Regions from separate parts of the Homo sapiens genome. Here regions 2 and 3 are each linked to region 1. The links are contacts of gene promoters, found by promoter capture Hi-C in human tissues and cell types (Jung and others, 2019). All regions are on one chromosome and are shown on one strand. The core of a region is centred on a gene start or on the middle of the fragment in contact, and the rest is flanking DNA. Distances in the headings are between cores, read along the strand shown.

Evidence for each region. Contacts are between HindIII fragments. The study calls those that stand out against the background at their distance.
Region 2: a contact is called between a fragment that was not itself captured here and the fragment with the promoter of APOL2 in region 1, in 1 of the 25 tissues and cell types used here (bladder).
Region 3: a fragment that was not itself captured here is called in contact with the fragment with the promoter of APOL2 in region 1 in 1 of the 25 tissues and cell types used here (adrenal gland).

The regions. Positions count from the first base shown.
Region 1 is chr22:36,237,893-36,241,220 of GRCh38, forward strand. APOL2 (apolipoprotein L2) reads right to left here and starts at 1,635. Exons shown (of 5, transcript NM_030882.4): 1 at 1,549-1,635. RefSeq lists enhancers at 562-1,076, 1,614-1,863, 1,874-1,923. The HindIII fragment of the contact is 12,319 bases long and covers 1-3,328 here.
Region 2 is chr22:36,277,225-36,280,487 of GRCh38, forward strand. No RefSeq gene overlaps it. Among named protein-coding and RNA genes, the nearest start is that of MIR6819, 8.1 kb to the right of the region's middle. The HindIII fragment of the contact is 4,206 bases long and covers 1-3,263 here.
Region 3 is chr22:36,299,927-36,303,360 of GRCh38, forward strand. It overlaps MYH9 (myosin heavy chain 9), which reads right to left. Exons shown (of 41, transcript NM_002473.6): 20 at 2,642-2,750; 21 at 1,608-1,739; 22 at 925-1,131; 23 at 201-338. Among named protein-coding and RNA genes, the nearest start is that of MIR6819, 15 kb to the left of the region's middle. RefSeq lists an enhancer at 30-1,229. The HindIII fragment of the contact is 3,060 bases long and covers 1-3,040 here.

The DNA.
Region 1 (3,328 bases), core at 385-2,884:
TCCCATCCCCAGCCTCAGGCCTTCACTCAGCTGCTCCCTCGCCCTGGAATGTCCCCCCCACTGTCCCCACCATGTGCAAGTCACCTGTCCTCAGAGACCCACCCAAAGCTGCCTGGTCCATGCGGCGGCCCCCAACCCTCCCCAGGCTCCCTGAGCACTCTGCTTTCCAGAGGGAGCTCTACCTGTATGTGGCTCTTTGGGCCTCTGTCTCCCCTTTAGACTCTGAACATTCAATGGGGACACTGTTGTGTTCCCAGCTGCACCCCCTACGACTGACCTGGATGCCCTCCGCCCTCCCTGGCACAGCCTGGCTGAAATCCCAGGTGCAGGAGGCATTACTTGAACTAAAAGCAACCAGCCTCTGGATGACATGGCCCAGCTTCAGTTTCACTTTCAGTTGAGAAATTGAATTTAATTTTTCTTTCTATCTTGATGGGCATCTCTTTTTGGTGAAGAACAAATAAGACCATGACTCATATTTCACAGAAATTACCCCCCTGATTTCATGGACTTTTGGCAGCTCTATCAAGTTTTTTAGAGGGGAAAAATCTTAGGCTGGGAGGGGAGGTGACTTGCCCAGAGTCACACAGCTCTTGGAGGGCAGAGGGGAGGCCAACATCTGCCCTTGTGACTCTGATATTGAAGCAAAAATGGGTGATTTTAATAATCCAACAGTGTCCAGGTTTGATTCTGCTTCTACAAACACAGAGACCTAAGCTCTCACTCCTGTAGTTATACTCACAATTCCACAGTGTGGCTTTTGAATCTCATGATTGCAAAGCTGGCATCATGCCACAGGTACCATTCTGCAATGCGACCTTCTCACTCCCCTGTCTCAGCCATGTTTCCCATTAGGGACACAGCACAGCCTGTTTCTTCTCTATCAGCTCAGAGGTCTGAACAGAGGGACAGAGGTGAGGGCCAGAGACGTGAAGTCCTATGATCTGCCTGCTCAGCCTCCTGACACGGGACCCTGGCAAGTCATTCCCCTCCCAGGGCCTCAGTTTCCCCACAGGGCCTGGCACAAGTAGGTGCTCAGACTCAGGGTGAGTGAGACAACCTCTGAGTTCCTTGTGTCTCAAAAGAAATCTGTTGTTCCCATTGGGCTTCAGCAGCAGCACCCTGGGGCCAGCCTGGGTGTGGCCCGGCCACAAGGACATGCCGGGCTCCAGGTCACCTCCCCTCCTCCACCTTCTTTGATTCCTTCAAATTTCCCAAAGAGATGGGCACCCCCAACACCTACCTTTCTTCTGGGGTCAGCTGGCCGTGTCTGAGGGTGTCAGAACCAGAGCTGAGCCCGGGGAGCTTTGTGAACCCATCTAAGCTGTTTTCCCCACCTCTCTCTACAGTTTACCCGCCCAGCAGGAGGGAGGGAGCAATCAGACTCAAGCCTGGGTGCAAATCCCGGCTCTGCCACTGCTTTCCTGTCTGATCTGAACCAGCTACCTAACCTCTCTGAGCTTATCTACAAAAGCTGAATGATCCTTCCCTTATAGAGCTATTGCAAGAATAAGGACATGGGGGTAGATCACACTATCCCCAACTTACCAAGGGATCTTCCTCTGACAGAGACTGAGCAAGATCCAACTGTTCTGAGCTGTGTGGATCCCACGTCCAGCTGTGCATCTGTGTAATAACCAGACACGTCCTCCGGCCTCCCAGATATACCCTGGAATTCGAAAGGGAAAGTGAAAGTCACAACTTCCCAGCAGCTCATGACCAAGCACAGTAAACACGCTGCTCCCCAGCACCACCTGCAGTCCAGGCCCAGCCTCCTTGCTGCTGCACTTAGAGGAGCAGCCGCAGACCAGACATCCGGGTCCCTCTCATCCAACCCACCTGCCTCACATCCTCAGGATTCAAGGTCTGCTGTGTCAGCTGCCCATGTCTCAGGCAGTCAGAACCAGAGTTGAGCCTGGGGAGTTTTTTGAACCCATCTGAGCCGCTTGCCCCCCAACCCCCGCCCCGATCTCTGCAGTTTAAGGGCACAGCAGGTGGGGGAGAGAAGTCAGACTCAAGCCTCAGTGCAATTCCAGGCTCTGCCCCTGTTTTACTGTCTGATCTGAACTAGTTACCTAACCTTTCTGAGCTCAAGAAAGACCTGCCACTGACTGACCGTGGGGCTCTCCAGATTACTCCCCGTCCTTCCGTTCCCCCACATTCCTCAGATGCCTGCCTTACTCCCACACATGCCATCAGCATCAGCACAGTCCCCCACACATGCTGGGTGGATGCTTATTGCATATTTATTGTAATGCTTCTGAGGTTATGTTTTCTGTTATGTTTTTGATATAGAGTCTTGCTCTGTAGCCCAGGCTGGAGAGCAGTGGCACAATCATAGCTACTTCAAGTGGCACAATCAAGCCATCCTCCCATCTCAGCTTCCGAGTAGCTGGGATTACAGGTGCCTGCCACTACACCCAGCTAATTTTTTGTAATTTTAGTAGAGATGGGGTTTCACCATCTTGGCCAGGCTGGTCTTGAACTCCTGACCTCAAGTGATCCACCTGCCTTGGCCTCCCAAAGTGCTGGGATTACAGGTGTGAGCCACGGCGCCCAGCCCATTGTATCCTTCTTGTGACTTTGTGTCTTCATAGCTTAGCTCCTACTAATAAATGAGAACATACAATATTTGGTTTTCCATTCCTGAGTTACTTCACTCAGAATAATGGTGTCCAACTTCATCCAGATTGTTACGGATGCCATTATTCCCTTCCTTTTTACAGCTGAGTAATATTCCATGGCATATACATATATAGGGGTGTGTGTGTGTGTGTGTGTGTGTGTATATACACACACATTTTCTTCATCCACTTGTTGGCTGATGAGCATTTAGGTTGGTTCCATATTTTTTCGGTTGCAAATTATGCAGCTATAAACATGCATGTGCGAGTATCTTTTTTATATAATAACTTTTCTCCTCTGGGTAGATACCCGGTAGTGGGATTACTGGATCAAATGGTATTCTACTTTTAGTTTTTTAAGGAGTTGCCATACTGTTTTCCATAGTGGTTGTACTAGTTTACATTCCCACCACCAGTGTAAAAGTTTTCCCTTGTCACCATATTCACACCATTTTAGCTAGGCTGGTCTTGAACTCCTGACCTCAAGTGATCCACCTGCTTTGGCCTCCCAAAGTGCTGGGATTACAGGTGTGAGCCACTGCACCCTTCTATTCTTCTTTGATTTTTAAATTATGGCCATTCTTGCAGGAGTAAGGTGGCAACTTATTGCAGTTTTAATTTGCATTTCTCTGATAATTAGTGACGTTGAGCACATTTTCATATTTTTTTGGCCATTTCATTTTGTATATCTTCTTTTGAGAATT
Region 2 (3,263 bases), core at 175-2,674, 39 kb after region 1:
GAGGCGGAAGTTGCAGTGAGCCGAGATCGCGCCACTGCACTCCAGCCTGGCTACAAAGCGAGACTCCGTCTTGGGGCAAAAAAAAAAAAAAAAAAAAAAAAAACACCACCTCTGCTTTCCTTTGTCTCCCTGAGTCGGCCTGTGGTCCCACCATGGGGTGTCCTGGCACATCATGTATTCCCAGATTTACAAATCCTTCTGCTCATTCCAGAATAAACTTGTTATCTTCAGAGACTCCCTTTCTGTTGTTATTTTAGGTTGACGACAGACTCCCTGAACGTAATCTCATAGTGGAGCAACCAGAATGGGGACTGCAGACTCAAATCCAGGTGAGAATCAGGTGTCTCTTAACTTCAGGGACGTGGGACGTGAGCAGAGACCATCCATTTGGAGATTCCGAGGATCTAGTGACTAAGAATAGGGCTCAGTTTCACCATCAACACCGCAGGAAAATTCACCCAGGATGTCTGCAGCTCCAGAGGAGGGGGCTTGGGCCAAAATCTTGGGTCCATATGCAATTTCGGCCACTGAGAAGGCAAACCCAACTCGAAGGGGGAAATGAACCCTGAAATTGCTTTGGAAGATGTGCGGTGACATCGCCAGCACCACCTAGTGGAAGCTGGAAGTGTGGACAGCCCTCCTCACAGCCACCACCCCCACCCCGCCCTGCCCCGCCAATGGAGAGGTGTGCTTGGCCAGGTCATGCCCGATGTCATTGTCTGTGTGCACCATGACAGGGACCCCAGCGCCCTGTTCTGCTCTTTTTCAAGGCACCCTGGAAGGAGGTGGCGAGCTTCAAGCTGGGCATTTGACAATGGGGGCTTCTGAAGGCATCAGTGGCTAGCGGAGACAAACAAGCCTAGGACTGCAAAGTGCAGGGGAAGGGAATTGTGTTTCATGCCCACAGCCCCTGGGGACCCCATAGGAGGCTGAGGGAGCAGCCACTGGTCCCGGCCACTCACAGCCCGGCCACTAGCAGTGTCTCATGGACAATCCTTTTTGTCTTTCCTCATATGGAAAAATTGGGCCCTGAGTAACAGGTGTCAGCTTCAGGAAGGTTCAGAAGTAGGTATAAAAATGACAAACACAATCAAGCTCATATTTTCCTGCTGAAGTCTAGACAAATGTGTGTTTCATTTTGATGCACATATAACATTTAAGAGAACTGGACTCATACACAGAGTTAACAGAGTAGTTTTTGGATTCAGATTTGAAATAGGTAATCGAGTAATTGATATAGATGCAGGATTTCAGCTTGAATGCCTCTCTGCTAGTAGGTACTGAGGGTGCTGCAAATAAGCTTTAGCCCAGGGAGAGGGAGAAGCATCTAGCTCAGTGGATCCCAAACAGGAGAAATGAGGAGTGGAGGGTAGGGAGGGTGCTGTGAGCACCCACAGCAACAGGATCTCTGGAACATGCACCAAGGGACATGCGCCAACCTCTATCCCCTTCCCTCCAGCAGCCAAGAGACAAAGGAGACTCTTGTCTGGAGTCATTGCGGTGCCAAAGCATGACCTTAAAAATGATAGCAACTTAGCTGGGCGTGGTGGCTCACGCCTGTAATCCCAGCTCTTTGGGAGGCCGAGGTGGGAGGATCACCTGAGGACCTGAGGTCAGGAGTTCGAGACCAGCCTGGCCAACATGGTGAAACCCTGTCTCTACTAAAAATACAGAAATTAGCCGGGTGTGGTGGCAGGCACCTGTAGTCCCAGCTACTTGGGAGGCTGAGGCAGGAGAATCATTTCAACCCGGGCGGCAGAGGTTGCAGTGAGCTGAGAGCGCACCACTGCACTCCAGCCTGGGTGACAGAGCGAGACTCTGTCTCTAAATAAATAAATAAATAAAATAATAGCACTTAGCTGCTGTGGAAAACTATATGACGGTTCTTTGAAAACTTAAACATAGAATTACCATAGGATCCCTCAATTCCACTTCTGGGAATATACCCAACAGCATGAAAACAGGGACCTGACCAGATATTTGTACAGTCATGCTCATAGCAGCATCGTTCACCATAGCCAAATGGTGGAGGCAACCCAGGTGTCCATTGACAGATGAACGGATAAGCAAAATGGTACGTGTACCCACAGGGAATATTATTCCGCCTTAAAAGAGGAAGGAAATTCTGACCCATGCTGTAACAAGGATGAACCTTAAGGACATTCTGCTAAGTGAAATAAGCCCGTCACAAAAGGACACATGCTGTATGATTCCGTTCATGTGAGGTTCTTACGGTGGTCAAATTTATAAAGATAAGGAGCAGAGTGTTGGTTGTCAAGGGCTGGGGGAGGGAGAATGAGCAGTTCATGTTTACTGGGTACAAAGTGTCAGTTTTGCAAGAGAAGAGTTCTGTGGATGATGGTGGTTGTGCAACAATGTGAATGTAATTCCACGAAACTGTTCACCTAAAAATGGTTAAAAAGGCAATTTTAGGTTATGAATATCTTACAGTTAAAATCTTTAATTAAAGTCCTTTCAAAGCCCAACCTTTGCAGAAAAAAAATTATAGCACCTGAGCCCTTTTTGGTTTGCAGAACATTTTCACACACATAGTCATACATGCTTCAACGACGGCCCTGTGATAAAAACATTTATTAATTTGGCTTCCCAGAGGAGAAAACTAAGGTTCAAATGGGGTGAAACGGCCAGGTGTGGTGGCTCATGCCTGTAATCCCAGCATTTTGGGAAGCCGAGGCAGGTGGATCTCCTGAGGTCAGGAGTTCGAGACCACCCTGGCCAACATGGCAAAACCCCATCTCAACTAAAAATACAAAAATTAGCCAGGTGTGGTAGTGCACGCCTGTAGTCTCAGCTACTCAGAAGGCTGAGGCACGAGAATCACTTGAACCTGGGAGGCACAGGTTGCAGTGAGTCAAGATCGCTCCACTGCTCTCCAGCCTGGGTGACAGGGACTCTGTCTCAGAAAAAAAAAAAAAAAAATCCAGGTGTGGTGGCTCACGCCTGTAATCCCAACACTTTGGAGGTCAGGAGTTTCAGATCAGCCTGACCAACATGGTGAAACCCTGTCTCTACTAAAAATACAAAAAAATTAGTCAGGCATGGTGGCGGGCACCTGTAATCCCAGCTACTCGGGAGGCTGAGACAGAAGAATAGCTTGAACCTGGGAGGCGGAGGTTGCAGTGAGCTGAGATTGAGCCACTGCATTCCGGCCTGGGTGACAGAGTGAGACTCCATCTCAGGGAAAAAAAAAAAAAAAAGATTCTGACAAAATGCCATGAAGATCGTTTGTAGATCTTGTCTTG
Region 3 (3,434 bases), core at 261-2,760, 62 kb after region 1:
CCCCTTTGCTTATGAGGAAATCCCTCAACTAAGGCCCATGGGACCTCCAGGGAGCACTTGCAGTTAAGCAGAAGCCCTCATGCTGCAGGCAGAAGAGACAGGAAGCAGCAGCAGCGGGGAGCCAGGCCCTGCAAGGGTGACCACACTCTCCCATCCACGGCGCCCCTGGAGCAGCGGCAGGCGACAGCCACGGGCCTCACCTTGGCCAGCTTGCAGTTCTGGTCCTCCAGGATGATCTGCTCCTCCTCCAGCTTTTTCAGCTTCGCCTCGGTGGTCACCTTCTCCAGCTGCAGCTTCTGCCGGGCGCTCTCCTCCTCCTCCAGCTGCTCCTCAAGCTCCTGCCGGGGGCCAGAGACACGGTAAGGACAGCAGGCCCAGAGGCATGGCCAAGGTGAAGGCAGCAAGGTCCGAAGGCCAGATCCAAACGCCAAGGAGAAAATAGCAAGGTCTGTGAGCCCAGGGCCATGGCTGAGGTGGGGACGGCAAGGTCCGCCAGCCCAGGGCCACAGCCGAGGCAGGGCCCAAGCCCCATTTGTAGGATTCCAGATTTCAAACTGGGACACAGGGCCAGAACATCGGTGCAATGTTCTGAAGGGTTTCCTGCAGCAAGCTCCCACCCATGAAACAGGCAGGACGCAGAGGTGCTGGCCCTGTGCCCCTTCGGCTAGCCAGGGCCAGGGCTAATGGCAGGGAAATCAAATTGGCCTTGATGCTGGCCCAGGCAGTGCTCATGGAGATCTCAGATGCACATGTCACAAACTACCAGCCCAAAGGGAACACCTCTCACTGAGAGCCCCAAGCAGATTGCGTGAGGAGCAGCCTCCTTGGACCCTAATTCCATGTTCTCCCAGCTCCTGGTTCCTGCTCCTCCGCCCCGCCCTGCCCCTCCGGCGCCACCCCTCCCCGGGTGCAGCGGGCAGGAACCTGGATGTTCTGCTGCATCTTCTTCTTCTCCGCCTGCAGGTGCTGGCAGCGCTCCTCCTCCTCCTCCACCCTGGCCTCTAGGTCATGGCAGATCTCTTCTAATTCCTGCTTCTTGGCGGTCAGGCGGGCCCGGAGCTCCTCAGCCTCGGCACACAGCTCGGTTTCTGCCTGGAGCTGCTCCTGCAGCTGCAATTTCTCTGCCATGAGCTGCAAACAACAAGTGGAAAACACAAGCTCCTCGCAACACCCTCAAGCCACTCCATCCTCAAGGACGGACGCCATGGCTCGGGATCCCAGAGGGAAAGGAACATGCAGACAAAAGTAGCTTTCATCTGGAGAGCTCTGAAGCTTCCAGGTACCTTCCAGACATCGTGTCCTTGATTTTTCACTACCCCATGAGCTCCAGAGCAAGGTCCCAGGAAATGGGCTCAAGTCATGTGGTAGAGCTGAGGTTTGAACCCAACACTTGTGAACGTTCCACTCTATTAAGTGGCCTCCCTACATCACTTAACACCCAATGGGGTCTGCAGAGAGACTGGTCACTGTTTACAGTAATAGGAAACTCAGTTGTAGAAAACTCCTATAGTAATAGAAACTTCCAGCATGCCGTGCCTACCGATGGCCAGCAGGTGGCAGCACCAGGCAGGTCGTGCGACCTGGACTGAGCCTGCACTGACACCCACCTGAGACTGCAGCGTCTCCATCTCCGTGAGCCTGTTCTCCGCAGCCAGCTGCTTCTCTCTGACCTTCACCAGCTCCTCCTCCTTGGCCATCATCTCCTCCTCCTGCCGGCTCACCTGCAGCAGCGGCTTGACCTGGGAGAGGAGATAGAGGTAGAGACATGCTCGGCTGGAAGATGCCCGCCTCTGCCAACAGGTGTGAGGCCTCTCCCTCACCTCTGGAAACATGAAAGTGAGGGGCAAGAAGACACGCTGTGGTGGGGGCTGCAAGCAGGCACATCCTTCCTGGCGCTCTGTACCACGGGCTTCTGACCCGCTAACTACATTCCAGGGAAACTATCCCTGCGTGTGCGTGAAGATGTTCACCTCGGCATTGTTTATCACAGCAAGAAAATGAGGAAGGACCCATCTCTGAAAAAGTACCCAGATAATGATGTGTTCCCTAGGGAACAGCACACTACCTCTAAAAAAACGATGCTTATGAAGGAATCATAAATGGAACGTACGAACTACAACTGTTTATATGAGTCAAACTCAGCTATGGAAGAATGTATACTGTTTACATAGCTGAGGTTTTATAGGCAGTGAGAAAAAGAGCGAGAAATTAAACACTAAAATAGCTGCTGCTGTTGGTTTAGGCTAAGGGTTTATGTGTGAATTTTTATTTAATTCTTTAGGCTTTTTGTGAGTTGGTTTTTCGCCATTACCATAAATTATGTATTATACACAAAAGCAGCCCGGACAAGTTTAAAAATAAAGAGATTTTTTTTTTAAAGGCCAGGAAGGTCAGCCTGGGCAAGATAGTGAGACCTTGTCTCTACTAAAAATCAAAAAGGGCCGGGCACAGTGGCTCATGCCTGTAATTCCAGCACTTTGGGAGGCTGAGGTAGGAGGATTGCTGGAGCCCAAGAGTTTGTGACCAACCTGGGCGACATGGTGAGACCACACCTCTACAAAAAATACAAACAATTAGCCAGGTATGTATGGTGGTGTGCACCCGTAGTCCCAGCTACTCAGGAGGCCCTTCTAGCACGCACCTTGGTGAAGAGCCGCCACCACTGCCAGTTCCGCAGCTTCAGGTAGGCAGCGCAGTTCCGCTGGAGGACCTTCATGGCGGTAAGCTGCTGCTGCCGCTTGGCAAATGCTCTGTGTGGTGAGGAACATGGTCAGCGCGGAGCAGTGGACAGCAGACCCGACCTAACAGTCCTGGTCTTGTCCTCAAGCTTTTCTGGGGGTCTACCCTTGCCTGGGGCACCTCAAGAAAGAAATTCAGGGAAGGGGTCTGGCCTTGGGGTTGAGATAAGTTTCTCCCACTTACAGGCTGTGTGACTCCATGAGGCACTAATCTTACAGTCGGTGAAGGACCTAGGTCACCAGACTACCCCTCCACTGAGGTGCCCATGGGGGTGAAGGCACGTGTGAAGTAACCACAGATCCTACTCAGTGTGGGGACTGAGCGTGACCCTTGGTGATTAAGCTGACTGGCCCTGGGTGACTCTGGACTTCAGCTTCCCACCCTTCGTGCTGTTCCCTATCTGAGCTTTTGTTTGGTGGGAGAACGTCAGAAGCTGATGTACTGTGAAGGTGGGCTGCAGGTGTCAGCTGGAGGGCTTTTGGATAAACAAGCCTCCATCTGTGCAAATGCTCAAGCTTCGTCTCCCAGAGCTCGGCGCTCCTGCTAGGACCCCATCCCCGAGCACAAGGGGACGAGTGTGCAGTGCCCACAGCCGCTGTCCTGCAGCAGGGGAGCCGTCATTCCCCAGGGAGTCAAAGATGAGTCTGGACTCGAGGATGGCCTGCTCCCCTGGAATCACAGGGTTCTTTAGGGAC